Linked DNA regions of Homo sapiens: region 1 is linked to region 2. The links are contacts of gene promoters, found by promoter capture Hi-C in blood cells and fetal thymus (Javierre and others, 2016). All regions are on one chromosome and are shown on one strand. The core of a region is centred on a gene start or on the middle of the fragment in contact, and the rest is flanking DNA. Distances in the headings are between cores, read along the strand shown. Region 1 has its middle 41 kb from the start of PPP1R17. Region 2 holds the start of ITPRID1 (ITPR interacting domain containing 1).

What was found. The method cuts DNA at HindIII sites, captures the fragments that hold promoters and counts their contacts. A CHiCAGO score of 5 or more calls a contact.
Region 1: a fragment that was not itself captured here is called in contact with the fragment with the promoter of ITPRID1 in region 2 in 1 of 17 cell types (monocytes); the score reaches 5.8 in monocytes.

The regions. Positions count from the first base shown.
Region 1 is chr7:31,724,724-31,731,495 of GRCh38, forward strand. It overlaps a transcript of PDE1C not described here. Among named protein-coding and RNA genes, the nearest start is that of PPP1R17, 41 kb to the left of the region's middle. The HindIII fragment of the contact is 2,436 bases long and covers 2,528-4,963 here.
Region 2 is chr7:31,511,834-31,518,239 of GRCh38, forward strand. It overlaps ITPRID1 (ITPR interacting domain containing 1), which reads left to right and starts at 2,257. Exons shown (of 15, transcript NM_001257967.3): 1 at 2,257-2,287. The HindIII fragment of the contact is 4,160 bases long and covers 625-4,784 here.

The DNA.
Region 1 (6,772 bases), core at 2,496-4,995, 210 kb after region 2:
TATCCTCTTCAAAACTTTTTTCTTTTCCCAACAGCTTTCTCCAAAATACCTTTCCTCTTGGCCTCTGGACTTTACTCTTTGATAGACATATAAGGTGGGCTGTGCGCTAAGGGTTGCAAAACTGTTTTGGGACCGCCCTTTCTGAAAGTCTTATATCGGTGAATTAGCACTCTGGAATGCAGGGGTATGTGCCAAGTATTGTTTTTGCTTTCTTTGTGGAGCCTCAGCCCATACAGAGACAGGAAAATACCATTTAAAAATCCTATGCCATGGGCTACTATATATAAAACACAGGGCATATGGTAAGCATTTAAGGGTTCCCTTCATTCCTTTGGACCTAGCACAGACTTGTCTGGGAAAAGTGTAAGCCTTGCCACCCTCATCTCCCACTTGTGTTGCACAGCAACACCCGCCACCTTGCCACCCGCATCTCCCACTTGTGTTGCACAGCATCCATCTCTCCAGGACCACAGGGGTCTCTGTGGCCTGCACAAAGATGATCCTGATGGCCATCGGGAGGTACTGGTAGGTATGAAGGGAGCTCTCTCTACATTGCTGCTTTCGTCAGCCACAATACAGGCAAACAACAGTGGCCTTGGCCCTAAAAATGAGTCCTCACAACATGATTTATTGCAATTTCTGGTAAAAGACCATCAAAAGGATGAGACCCAACCAACTTTTTTGGCATGAAAAACTTGTGGCAGCTAAATGGGGCATTTCTTACCAAAAGGAGAGCTACAACTGAGAACTTCCTGAGCTCACCCCAAACATAGACCCTGGGATGGTGATGTTTGTCTACCAAATTATGAAATGCTAGCAGATCACTTTGTCCATTTGGTTCTAAGGACTGTCCATCAGGAGTGAGGGAACACTCATCAACAATCTTTGAATGTTGAAGTAAAAAGGGATTGGATTGTTATCAGTGCCAGGTTCCTAGTGTGATAAGGTACTATAGCTATGCAAGATGTTACCACTGGGGGAAACTGGGTGAAGGGTATATGGGATTTTCTCATATTACTTCTTACAGCTGCTTATGTATCCACAATTATCTCAAAATTAAAGTTTTTTAAAAAGGATGGGAGATAATCAAGTTTAATGCCTTCTATTTTTTGGTTTGTTTGTTCTTACTAGATTTAGAGTTATATCTAACTACCCTTTACAGGTTACTTTTTCTTACAGAAGCAAAGTCTGTTTTAAAAAAGAGAGAGAGAAAAATCCCAAAAAATAGGAAGAAAAACAAAAGTAGAACAAATTATGCTTACTTCTACTTCATGAATTTGATGATGGTATACATTTTGGTGTATTTGTTTTCACGTGACTTTTACAGAGTTAAAAATAATACTCTTTTTGTTTGTCTTTTATAGAAATAGGGTCTCACTCCATTGCCTTGGCTGGCGTCCACTGGAATGATCATAGCTGACTGTAGCCTCAAACTCTTGGACCCAAGCATTTCTCCCGCTTTAATCTCCCAAGAAGTTAGGACTGCAGGTGTGCACCAACATGATCATTTTTTTTTTAATTTTGTAGAGATGGGGTCTTGGTATGTTGCCCAAGCTTGTCTTGAACTCAAGTGATCATCATACACTGGCCTCCCAAAGTGCTGGGATTATAGGTGGGAGCCACTGCACCTAGCAAAATAATACTCTTAATATTGTACTTTTGTATATTTAATTTTGTATTATGGCTTTTAAAATTAACAATTGAGAAAGAAAACAGCAGCCTCTTATATTGGGGGCTGGCCAGGCATTCACAAGCAGGCCTTGGCATTCTCCTGCTGAACAGGAACAATTTCACAGAACACAACCGTCAGACAAGGCCACTCTGTGTCCATGATATGGACCTAAACAGAAATAAGACCATTCGTAGTCATGTCTGATCACAGACAAAACACAAACATTCTCCAAACCACAAAATAACCAAAGAAAGTATCCCTCATCTTGGCCAATATGAGTGACTGTTGTTTCTCTATCAATTACAGCTTTAGCTTCAGTCTAGTCTTCCCTCCTAGGTAAGATTTATTAAGATGTGGCCAGGCACAGTGGCTCATGCCTGTAATCCCTACATTTTGGGAGGCTGAGGCAGGTGGATCACCTGAGGTCAGGAGTTCGAGACCAAACAGGCCAACAGGATGAAGTCTCATCTCTACTAAAAATACAGAAAATTAGCTGGGTGTGATGGCAGGTGCCTGTAATCCCCAGCTATTCGGGAGGCCTGAGGCAGGAGAATCACTTGAACCCGGGAGGTGGAGGTTGCAGTGAGCCAAGATCATGCCATTGCCCTCCAGCCTGGGCAACAAGAGCAAAACTCTGTCTCAAAAAAGAAAAAAAAAATTAACAAAAAAAGATGCTCAGTCTTAGAATTCCCCTTATTTTCTGGCAGCATCCAATTCAGAACAAAGCCATAGTCCTCAAAGCCCTTTCCAAATAATTCATCACAAGCCCAAATTCTGTAAGTCCTTTCTAACACCTTACTGAGACGCCCCACAGTTCTCTGTGGTGCCCATTCTCCCTTGCTGCAATGAGTAATAAGCTTAGCTTGTTCAACTACAAGTGTGTTTCTGGTGGCCTTTTGCTGGAGGGCATTGAAACAAGATTATAAACATTCAACTGAGCTATGGCACATGCATCTTCATTCTCCTTTTTAATAGTTGCATTATGTTCCATTCAATGAATGGCCCATAGTTCATTTGACTCTAATGATAGACCTTCAGTTATCCTTCAGGTTCTCCATTTTGTAAATACCACTGTGACATGCACCTTCTTACATAAATATTTCTGGTGATTTCCTCAGGTAAAATTAATAGAATTCCCAAGACAAATAGTTGGACATTTTTAAGGCCTTTGATGCATATTGTCTCTCTCTTCATTTTATAGAGGAGGAAACTGAGAAACAGATGGAAAATGACTAGTCCAAAATCAATAACTATCTAATATCAGGTTCAAGACAAAGATTTCCTGACTCTAAACACAGCTTTCTTTAATTTTTTTAGACTACAATGGGAGATGTGTGCATATAAATCAATAAATTAAGAGTTTCAGCTGGGCACGGTGGCTCATGCCTATAATCACAGCAGTTTGGGAGGCCCAGGCAGGAGGATCACTTGAGGTCAGGAGTTCAAGACCAGCCTGGATAACATAGTGAAACCTCGTCTTTACTAAAAATACAAAAAAATTAGCCGGGCGTGGTGGCATGCACCTATATTCCTCACTACTTGGGAGGCTGAGGCAGGAGAATCGCTTGAACCTGGGAAGCAGAGGTTGTAGTGAGCTGAGATCTCACCACTCCACTCCAGCTTGGGTGACAGAGCAAGACTCCTTCTCAAAATAAATAAATAAAAGTTTTATGTGATATCCACTTAAGGTTGATTTATAGTCACTGAGATTATAGGGACCCAACATGGGGTAAATCCTGTGAGCAGTTCTCAGCCATGCTGAGGTTCTCTGAAACCATCTTGCACTCAAGTCTCTCAGGCCACTGCGGACAAGGATCCTTCCTAAGTGCTTTGGGTGCGTAGGTCCTGTAGGTACTAATCCTAGAACCTGTGGGCCCAAGGGAGCCTAGAGCTGCCATTTGTCCTCTGGGAAAGAAAACAAGCCAGCATTTCTCTAATGGGTGAAGACAACCAGGCCCATAAGGTGCAACCAATCAGTCCCAGGGAGACATGAACCTGTTTCTTCCATTGGCTAATAAGAGTCATTCCCGGCCAACCAAATACCCAAAGTAAGAGAAACGCAACATTTGTTTTATCCCCCTCTGTTTTTGCCTATGCTGTTTTGGAAGCTATTTCATAGTCTTTATAGCCAGTTTTCTATTCCTAAGTTCTAGAACTTATATTCATTCATGTGTTTATTCCCTCATTCCTCAGGTATTTGTGGATTGTTTTCCGAGTACTGAGGATATAGAGATAAAATAAGACATGATTCCAGCCTTCCCTGAGTTCACACCATCCTGGAGGAGGCTGTCATGCAAATATTGACAGCCTACTCTGCCTAGAGTTAAATATATGTCAGTCCTGGAACCCCAAAAGCAGGAGGTAGAGTTAAGTCCTGCCAGGGAAGTCTTAGAGGAACTCACAGAGGTGACATTTGAGCTTTGTTTTAGTAATTTAGCAAAGAAAGAGAGTATGGAAAGAAGAAAGAGAACATTTTAGAGCTAAGGCTGAGTAAGTACAAAGAGGGGTGGAAGTGAAAGAATATATTCTGCACCCAATGGGGCTAAATCTTTCCAGTCTAGAGCCCAGACTTCTTGCCTTGTAATCAGGTAGAACTGGTTCAATTTCTGGCTGCATAGTGCAGATGATATTGGACCTTAGGCAGGTGTCTTTACCTCTTTGGAGCCTTGCCTCCCCATCAGAAAAATATAAATGATAAATACAGGCTGTGTTAGGTTATTACGAGGACCAAATGTAAAAACAAATGCGTAAGTTTTTAGCACCAGGCCTGACATTTTAAAAAGCACAAAATAAACAATAAAAGATTTTCAGTAAAAGTTTTGTTTCTTTGTTCTTCCACTTGGGCCGTTCTGGGAAATACCCTGCTCAGAGAACCACAGTGATGAGCCTTGTGTGAGGTTAGCTTAGCTTACATGAATTCCATTTGCTCTTTATCGAAGGCTCTGCTCTGGAAGTAGTCACAAATCTTACAAAAACTCAACTGTTAATATAGCACAAGCCTGAAGAGGGGGCACTTACTGAGGACCCAGTGAGAGGAAAAAAGCAAAACGTCTTGCATTGTGTAAAACCTATTTTCCCAGTTGCATTGCATTTTACCTTTTTAAATTTAACAATAGCAGTAAATTTAACTTCAGCATTACCTGCTGACTCTGAATCTAAAGTACCTAGTAGGTGACTCACCTGTTTCTCTCAAGGAAGAGCCACTCACATCAAGTGTATTGGAGAAAGGCAGGGCTACAACCTACCTGATTCACACTGAGAATGTTGACTGCACACCAGGCCCAAATTGTAAGCTTAGTCCAGTAAGGAATCAGGGTCAGGTAATGAAGTGGGTTTGGGGTTAGTGTTGAATCTTGAGAGATCTTCTCCCTTTAACCCAGGATCTGTAACTACTTGGGGCAAGTTTTTCTGATTGAGTCCACTTGGGGAAGCAAAATATTTTAAACTATTCTCAGGAGCCTTCTGTAGACAAAGCATGAAGACACAATTTGAGGGGCCAAATATACTTCCAGGAAGGACACGTGGTATAACAGGGAACTTTGGAATGAGACTCATGGGGTACAAGTATCAGCCCCGTCACTCACTAGCTATGTCTTCTGTGGCAAGTTACTCTACCTCTCTTAGCATCCATGTCTCCATCTATACAATGATTTGATGCACCTTCCTCACCTGGTTGATCTGACGAGTAAGTGAGATCATGCATTTAAAGCATCTGATTCCCCTAGACGTTAATTCAGTCTTGGTTTACCGTCCTTTCCCATCATATTCCTCTTGGTAGCTGCGAACGTGTTTACACTAATTAGGTAGTTCACCAATAGATACTGTGTTGCACAAACCTACACAGCACAGACACACACACTCACATACCCAGATGTCAGCCTTTCAGCTCAAAAGACATATTTCAGGAATGCTGACCTCCATCTCAGCTCTCAGGTTCAGTTTCTGCTCTCTTCCCTCTGCCGTCTCCTCATTCCTGCACCAGACTTCCAGGGTCACCTCAGGGCCACTCGTGCTCTGCAGTGTCATCCCAGCCACCCTTCCACTACATCTCAGCCTCTCTAACCTCCCCACTGGAAACTAACCAGGGTGTTTGTCTCAGTCTGATCTGATTCCATCCATCTGAGAATTGCCCCTGTGCAGTATGGGAAAGAAAAGCAGGCCTCCAGGTTAACTCAGTTAAATAAACATTTACTAAATGCCTTTTTATTTTTCCGGTTGGAAAGTGAATCCTACTCTGTGCCAAGTACTTTATTAGGTACTGCAGATATAGAGGTTGAGTCGTTTCTGTCCTTGATGAGCCAGGGAAGACAGTCATGTCAATAAATAAGCACAAGCCTCTGTAATAAATGCAACCATGGCTATGCATCGGAGACACAGAAGTCACACATGAGATAGTCGGGTTTCTTCTGCTTGGAAGGAAGTGAGTGGATGGAAGAAATGTAAAGATAAGATGACAAGTCTGAAAAAAGGGTTTGAAGGATGAACAAAAGAGGAAAGCACACTGCAGACAAAGGAAGCAACAAAAAATGGACCTAAAATATCCCAATAAGTCAGAAAAATCTAACTACTGGATCAGAAGACACAAGGAGAGAAGGAGAGTCAAACTAGAAAATTTACAGATAGGCAAATCATGGAGAGGGGGGCGGGTTCCCAAGCTACGTGCAGGGGGAAGTGACCTTCCTTGCCCCATCAAGAAGAGACTTTGAATGTTATCATGAGAAGGAATGATGCCGTGTGACTTCTGTTGCAGAAGCTCATAGAAGCTGGAGGTGGGGGTGGTATGTTGGGATCAAGCCCTGAGGGAGGCGGGCAGGGAAAATAGGAAGCACACCTCACCAAGCTCACAGGAACCCGCAGGACCCGTGTAGGTGCCAAAGTGGGGCTGAGGATCAACTGGCCCGTTCATTTAGCTCTTCAGGAGCCCTAGCCAATCACTGGCTAGGAACCACCTCCTAATATCATTAAGTACAACATTGGGGTGAAAGGCAGGGAATTGGCACTTTTTTTGAGAGAGAGAGAGAGTCTCGCTCTGTCACCCAGGCTGGAGTGCAGTGGTGTGATCTCAGCTCACTGCAACCTCCGCCTCCCCGGTTCAAATGA
Region 2 (6,406 bases), core at 1,007-3,506:
GATATCACTTATTTCATGGCCTGTAGTCCATAGTCTTCCTAGAAATGATCAAAAAAGCAATACTGATAGAAGAAGCAAATTCAGGACAAACAGGCCATCCAAAAGAGACATGATATTTCAGGTTGCTACTAGAGAGGAGGAGTCCAAGTAGATCCAAGAGACAGAACCTGGGAAAACTAGGTGAAAGCAAGAGAAGTCAAAGTCAAGGTGAAAGGAAGCAAGCCAAGTTTTAAACAACCTGTCTCTAATGATCTGGTCAGGACATTAGAGAAGGCTAAGGAAGATGGGCACTGGATCATCTAACAGTCACTGGGAGGCTGTGGAAATTGGTTAGGATTTTCTGGGGACCAACAGTACAATTTACTGTCTGTGGACAACACTATTGTAAGGAAATGTGCTCAAGGCACTATGATCTTATAAAAAAGATATTCACTGGGAAGCTATGGAAACTGGTCAGGATTTCCTGGAGACCAACAGTACAATTTACTGTTTTTGGATGACTCTATTTTAAGGAAATGTGCTCAAGGCACTATGATCTTACACAAGGATATTCAGGCTTGAAGATAGAAACATGAGTTGTAGTTCAGGTCATGTGACCTTGGGCAAAGAAAGTCACCTCTCTTAAGCTTTAGCTTCTGACATGTTAAATGTAGGGGAGAAAACAAAACAAGATTCCTGCTCGAGGTATCCCACAGGTCTTTAGAAACAAAACGAAACAAAACAAAACAAAGCATAACAAAATAATAGATATAAAACCACTTAATGAAACTTCAAAGCCAGTAGTAATAGAGCAAATTATAGTCATTAATGCGACTTCGCTGGAGGAAGAAATGTTAACAATAGAACATACTTGCTCTTTCAAGTGTTTGCCAGTTTGTGGGAACAGGGAAATAAGGATGGAGGTCTGACCTAGGAATAAAATTACCAATTCATTCTGTCTTCCTTTCAGGGTTCTTATGACAATTAACTTGCCAAGATTCAACCGCAAGACCATATGTTGCTGAGATCACATGGGGAGATGAGATTTCTTTTGATTATTTGTTTGTATTAACATTATTAGAATAGTGCTTCATTTATTACACTGGCCCAAATTCAATCTGTCAGGAGGGTTCCCAGCACATGAAGGTATAAAAACACTCTCAAACGCAAGTGGTTTTCTCAAATAGGAGAACCCTAAGCTCACCTCCTCCTCAGACCTTGTTAGCAATCGCCTGTGTCCTTAGGCAGGATGATACTCACACTAATGATAGGTGAATGACATTCACACTGATAACAGGCCTGAACCGTTCTAAAGTATTGAACATCCTTTTGAATTGTGAAAGGAATATTAATGTGCAGTAATGACAGCCTTAACATTTAATGTATTTTAATGATTCTAATTATTTGGAAGTTGGTAATCAGTGTCTTCACTCAAGCTAGGTCATTTGATTAACCAGACCACCCATTTTCTGAGCACACAGAACAATTAGATATACATTAAACTACTTCCACCAATGCTTCTCGTTCTCAATTACAAACAATATGCTGCATTCAGACACTAAAGTGTAGAATCATTATAATACCCCCATCACAGTTATTATTTTCTAAGTCATAAGTTAGCCCATCAGACAACACTTCTGCTTCTTCAGTCTCATCTCTCTCTTTTGTTTCCATATAGTCTATGTTTCAGCCACACAGACTTCTTCACAATTCCCTGAATGTACCATTCTGTTGGCTAATTTTGTGCATCTTGTATATGGTGCTCTGTTTGCCTTCAATGTCCTCCCCACAGCCCCAACCCTATTCAACCCTCGTTCATCAGGAAAGTTCCTATTCGTGCTTCAAAACTCATCACAGGCATTATCCCCTGGGAGAGGGCTTCCCAAATTCCCTATGGATAACTCATCACCTCTCCCTCTGTGGCCTCAATATTCCTCCACGGAAGTTACTAGTTGTTTTTACACTTGTGGCCCTAAAAGGCTGCACGTTCTTAGGGGGAGAGGAAAGCAATTTGTTCATCTTCACATCTCCTTTTTCCAGACGAGTGTCTGGCATGAAGTAGAGCTTATAAAATCCTGAGGGTCCGTGAATGCTGGAAGTCTCTTTCAGTCTGATTTAGTTGTCTGAAGGTGCCATTCTGTCGCAGGCTTCTGTTTTGATTGTTTCCTGATCCCTTTGGATGAGGAAAACAGGTTTTTCCTTAGGACAATGGGTGTGGATTATGAAAATGTTATGCAAGATTAGTCAAATGCTACACTGTTTCCTTCAGGAACTTTCAGATGGCTCAGGAGTGGAGCTTTTGTGGCAGGTGGGTAGAGGCTGCTGGAGGGGGCTTTCATGATCATCTGCTTTGAGGGATAAACATTGCTTGTCCCCTCCTCCAACTAAGGAAGGTAAGACTGTTTATCAAAAACTTTTGTATGTGTGTGCTCTAGGAACCTAAATATTCTCCATGATCATTTCAAAAAAGGGACACAAAACGTTTACCTTCTTCTCTCCCTCTAGATTGTAACCTAGCTAATAGGCTTCCTTTAAATGCAGGTGAAATTGATCAGACTGAAGTTGTTAGAATCAAATAAAATAATGTTAAATGCTGTTGGTGATAAAGGAGTTGAAATGTAAGAAGGAATATTGAGTATTGGCCATTTCCTGGATGGGGGCAGAGGAGAAAAAAGCTAATCTGGAGTTGTGGGGGCTAATAATTGACAATTAAATATTGTGGTTTTGAGAGCTAGCCAATTCCAGGGAATGAGGGAGAGAGAGAGTCCAGCAGGTAAGTACAGCTTATAAGCACGGTGTTGCTCCATTTCTAGTTTTCAGCTAGTAATATTTTTGTGTGAGGATATCGCTCCAGTATAATTTGCAAAATGCCACAAGTCAGAATAGTATGTTGGTACTTCAACTTTAACAGATATATGTTGCTAATGAATAAGATGTGTTAAATACTAATGAAATTGAATGTTCCAACCAGACTAGATAGCATATTTGCACATATATATACACAAATAGATATATAAATTGCTTTATATATACTATAAACATGAATTTTATGTAATATATAAAGGTTAATATTTTACATAATATATATAAAATAAAAGCAATTGTGTTTTTAGCAGGTACCTTTATTAAGTCATTCACAGCTCCCTCTCACTTCTCCTGGTTCAGACCTGAGAGCCTGGCCCATTTCAGTAACAATTTTAGGGGAATTGACAGAAGAGAAGAAAGTGGTGATTTAGTAATTATCTATTCTTATTGGATAATATATAGCTAACTCATAACTTTACCAGACCATTTTCCTAACTCCTCTAAGGCAAGAGATCAAGAAGTGGGAGAGTTTGGAGGAAAAGTTTTGCTTTTTAAAAAAATTGTTATAGGAATACCTTTTCATTCCTTTCCACTACTTCTCCACTAGAAAAATACATGAACTTATAAAGGCAATGAGGGAAATGCTCTGCTTTCTACAGCAGTGGTTAAAAAAAAAAAAAGAAAAAACAGAGAGAAACAAGTTGTGGTATGTCCATGCAATGGACTAGTATGTAGCCACTAAAAATAAGTCAAATGGAGACCAGCCTGACCAACATGGAGAAACCCCATCTCTACTAAAAATACAAAATTAGCTGGGTGTGGTGGTGCATGCCTGTAATCACAGCTACTCAGGAGGCTGAGACAGGAGAATCGCTTGAACCTGAGAGGCAGAGTTTGCAGTGAGCTGAGATATCACCATTGCATTCCAGCCTGGACAACAAGAGCAAAACTCCGTCTCAAAAAACAAAACAAAACAAAACAAAAAAGAGTCAAATGTATCTACTTGGACATACCATGATGTCCAGTACGTGAAAAAGCCCAGAGGACAAGGATTGGCAACAACTTGATGTGATTATTACATTGTAAGATTGAAAACGTAGGGATATGAATTTTCACTTAATTTTATACACATTGTATTGTTTAAAATGTTTGCAATGAGCCAAAATGATATATTTCTTATCTACAGAAAGAATGATGGAAGGAGGGAATGTGAAGAGAGAATGAGAACAAGAGAATGAAGGGAGCAGGGAACAAGCAGCTCTCCAAAATGTTGTGAAGTTTTAACGAGGCTGAGCTTCTGTTTCATATAAGATGATAAAAGTACTGTGTTAGGAGAAGAAACAGGCTAGATATTTGTACCTTTCATAATAGTTTTTTTTTGCCAACAAAATATTAGGTTATTAAACATTGACCTTGCAGCAAATTAAATATGGTATTAACCACATTAATGGTTAATAAATAAATATGGTATTAATGCCCAACTTGGACGAATTTCAGTGAATCACAGAGACACATAGGATTGGGTGAGGAAAGGAAAGAGAATAAGGCTAGAAGATTAATAATAAACCCTCTTTGTAAAACACAGTATATAATGTGCATAATCACCTGGATGTCTTATTGCACATTTAGGTTTGTTGAAGGTTTCTGCGTGTGTGTGCATGTGTATGTATGTATGTGTGTACTATTGGTTCTGGGAAATATGGAAAATATTTTCAGAGAAAAGAACTAATATATCAAACCTTAGACTCTATAAAAAGCTGACCCAAATTATACAATCTTGTTTATTATTTCAACTACATGTACAAAATTCAATTATGACTCTTACTGTCTAATTTAAAACACCCTTGATATCCCGCAAATCTCAGAGAAATCCCAGGGAGGGTAGTAGACAATGTGGCTGAGTTAGAGATGCCATAGCTCAGGAAGAGAAACGGCTTGCTCTAACAGACACAGATAATAGTTGGCAGCACCCAGATTTGAATGTAAGTCTGTCTTGCCAAAGCTTATAAACTTAAAAAAAAAATTGTCTGAATACAAATAGTACATGCTTAGATAAACTCAATTAGAGCCTATGTGTCCATTTGCACTTTCTACAACAGAAGTTTTTAACAGAACCTCCAAAGTAGTGACTTCTCTGTGACAAGATGTGACTGGTACCAGAAATGTCTTTCTCAGAAGTTGCTGTGATATTGTGGCCAGAAGTGGTGGGTTCTCGGTCTCGCTGACTTCAAGAATGAAGCCACAGACCCTCGTGTTAAGTGTCACAGTTCTTAAAAATGGTGTGTCCAGAGTTTGTCCCTTCTGACGTTCGGACCTGTCCGGAGTTTCTTCCTGCTGGTGGGTTTGTGGTCTCACTTCGTGGTCTGGCTGACTTTAGGAGTGAAACTACAGACCTCTACCGTGTTACAGCTCTTAAAACTGGTATGAACCCAAGGAATAAGCAGCAACAAGATTTATTGCAAAGAGCGAAAGAAACCACCATTCCCAGAGAACAAAGCAAACCTAGCAGATTTCAGGTTTTGGTTCGGGTGGCCTGCTTTTATTCCCTTATGTGGCCCCACCCACATCCTCCTGATTGGTCCATTTTGCAGAGAGCTGATTGGTCCATTTTACAGAGAGCTGATTGGTCCATTTTACACAGCGCTGATTAGTCCATTTTACAGAGAGCTGATTGGTCTGTTTTGGCAGAGTGCTGATTGGTGCGTTTACAAACCTTTAGCTAGACGGAAAAGTTCTCCAAGTCCCCATCCTCCCAGAAACCCAGCCGGCTTCACCTCTCACCAACAGTGGCTGCGGGACTTTCCAGCACCTAGCCTGGGCATTCCCACAGCCCAGAGGGAGCTCGTCCCAGACAACCAAGAGGAAAAGAAGGGAAACAAGAAAGAGATGGAGACCCATCATTGTGGCCAACGACCCCACGAAGAGGGAATAGCGGTCCACGCACGGGACCCAGCCTCCGATCAAGCCCAGCAGGCGCCGGGTGCGCCTGTGCTGGGAGGCAGAGCCCACGCCCACCCGGAACCGCGCCGGCCAGCGAGGTCCGTGCGCAGCCCCGGCTGCCGCCTGCGCTTCTCCCTCCACACCTCACCGTTAGCAGAGGGAGCCGGCTCCGGCCTCAGCCAGCCCCAGAGACAGGCCCCCACAGCACAGCGGCGGGCTGAAGGGCTCCTCGAGCGTGGCCAGAGCAGACGCCGAGGCTAAGGAGGTGCCGAGAGACAGCGAGGGCTGCTAGCACATTGTCACCTCTCAATACTGGAACTCAGAATAAGAGGTCTCCACTGTTCTGAGTTATGGGAGAAAGATGGGTGTATGGTAGACAGAATAGTGCCTCCCCACAACAAAGATGTCAACATGTTACTGTGTGTGTTAAAAGGGACTTTGTAGGTGTGAGTAAGTTGAAGATCTTGAGAAGAAAAGATTATCCTGGGTTTTTTGGGTGGGGCCAATGTCATAAAAAGGTCCAGATAAGAAAGAGGCAGAAGAGTCAGGGTCAGAGGAGGAGCCATCATGATAGGAGCAGAGAAGCAGAGTCAGGAGAGTTGATGCTACACTGCTAACTTTGAAGATGAAGAAGCCACGAGCTATGGAATGGAGACAGCCTCTGAAAGGCAAGGAGATGGAT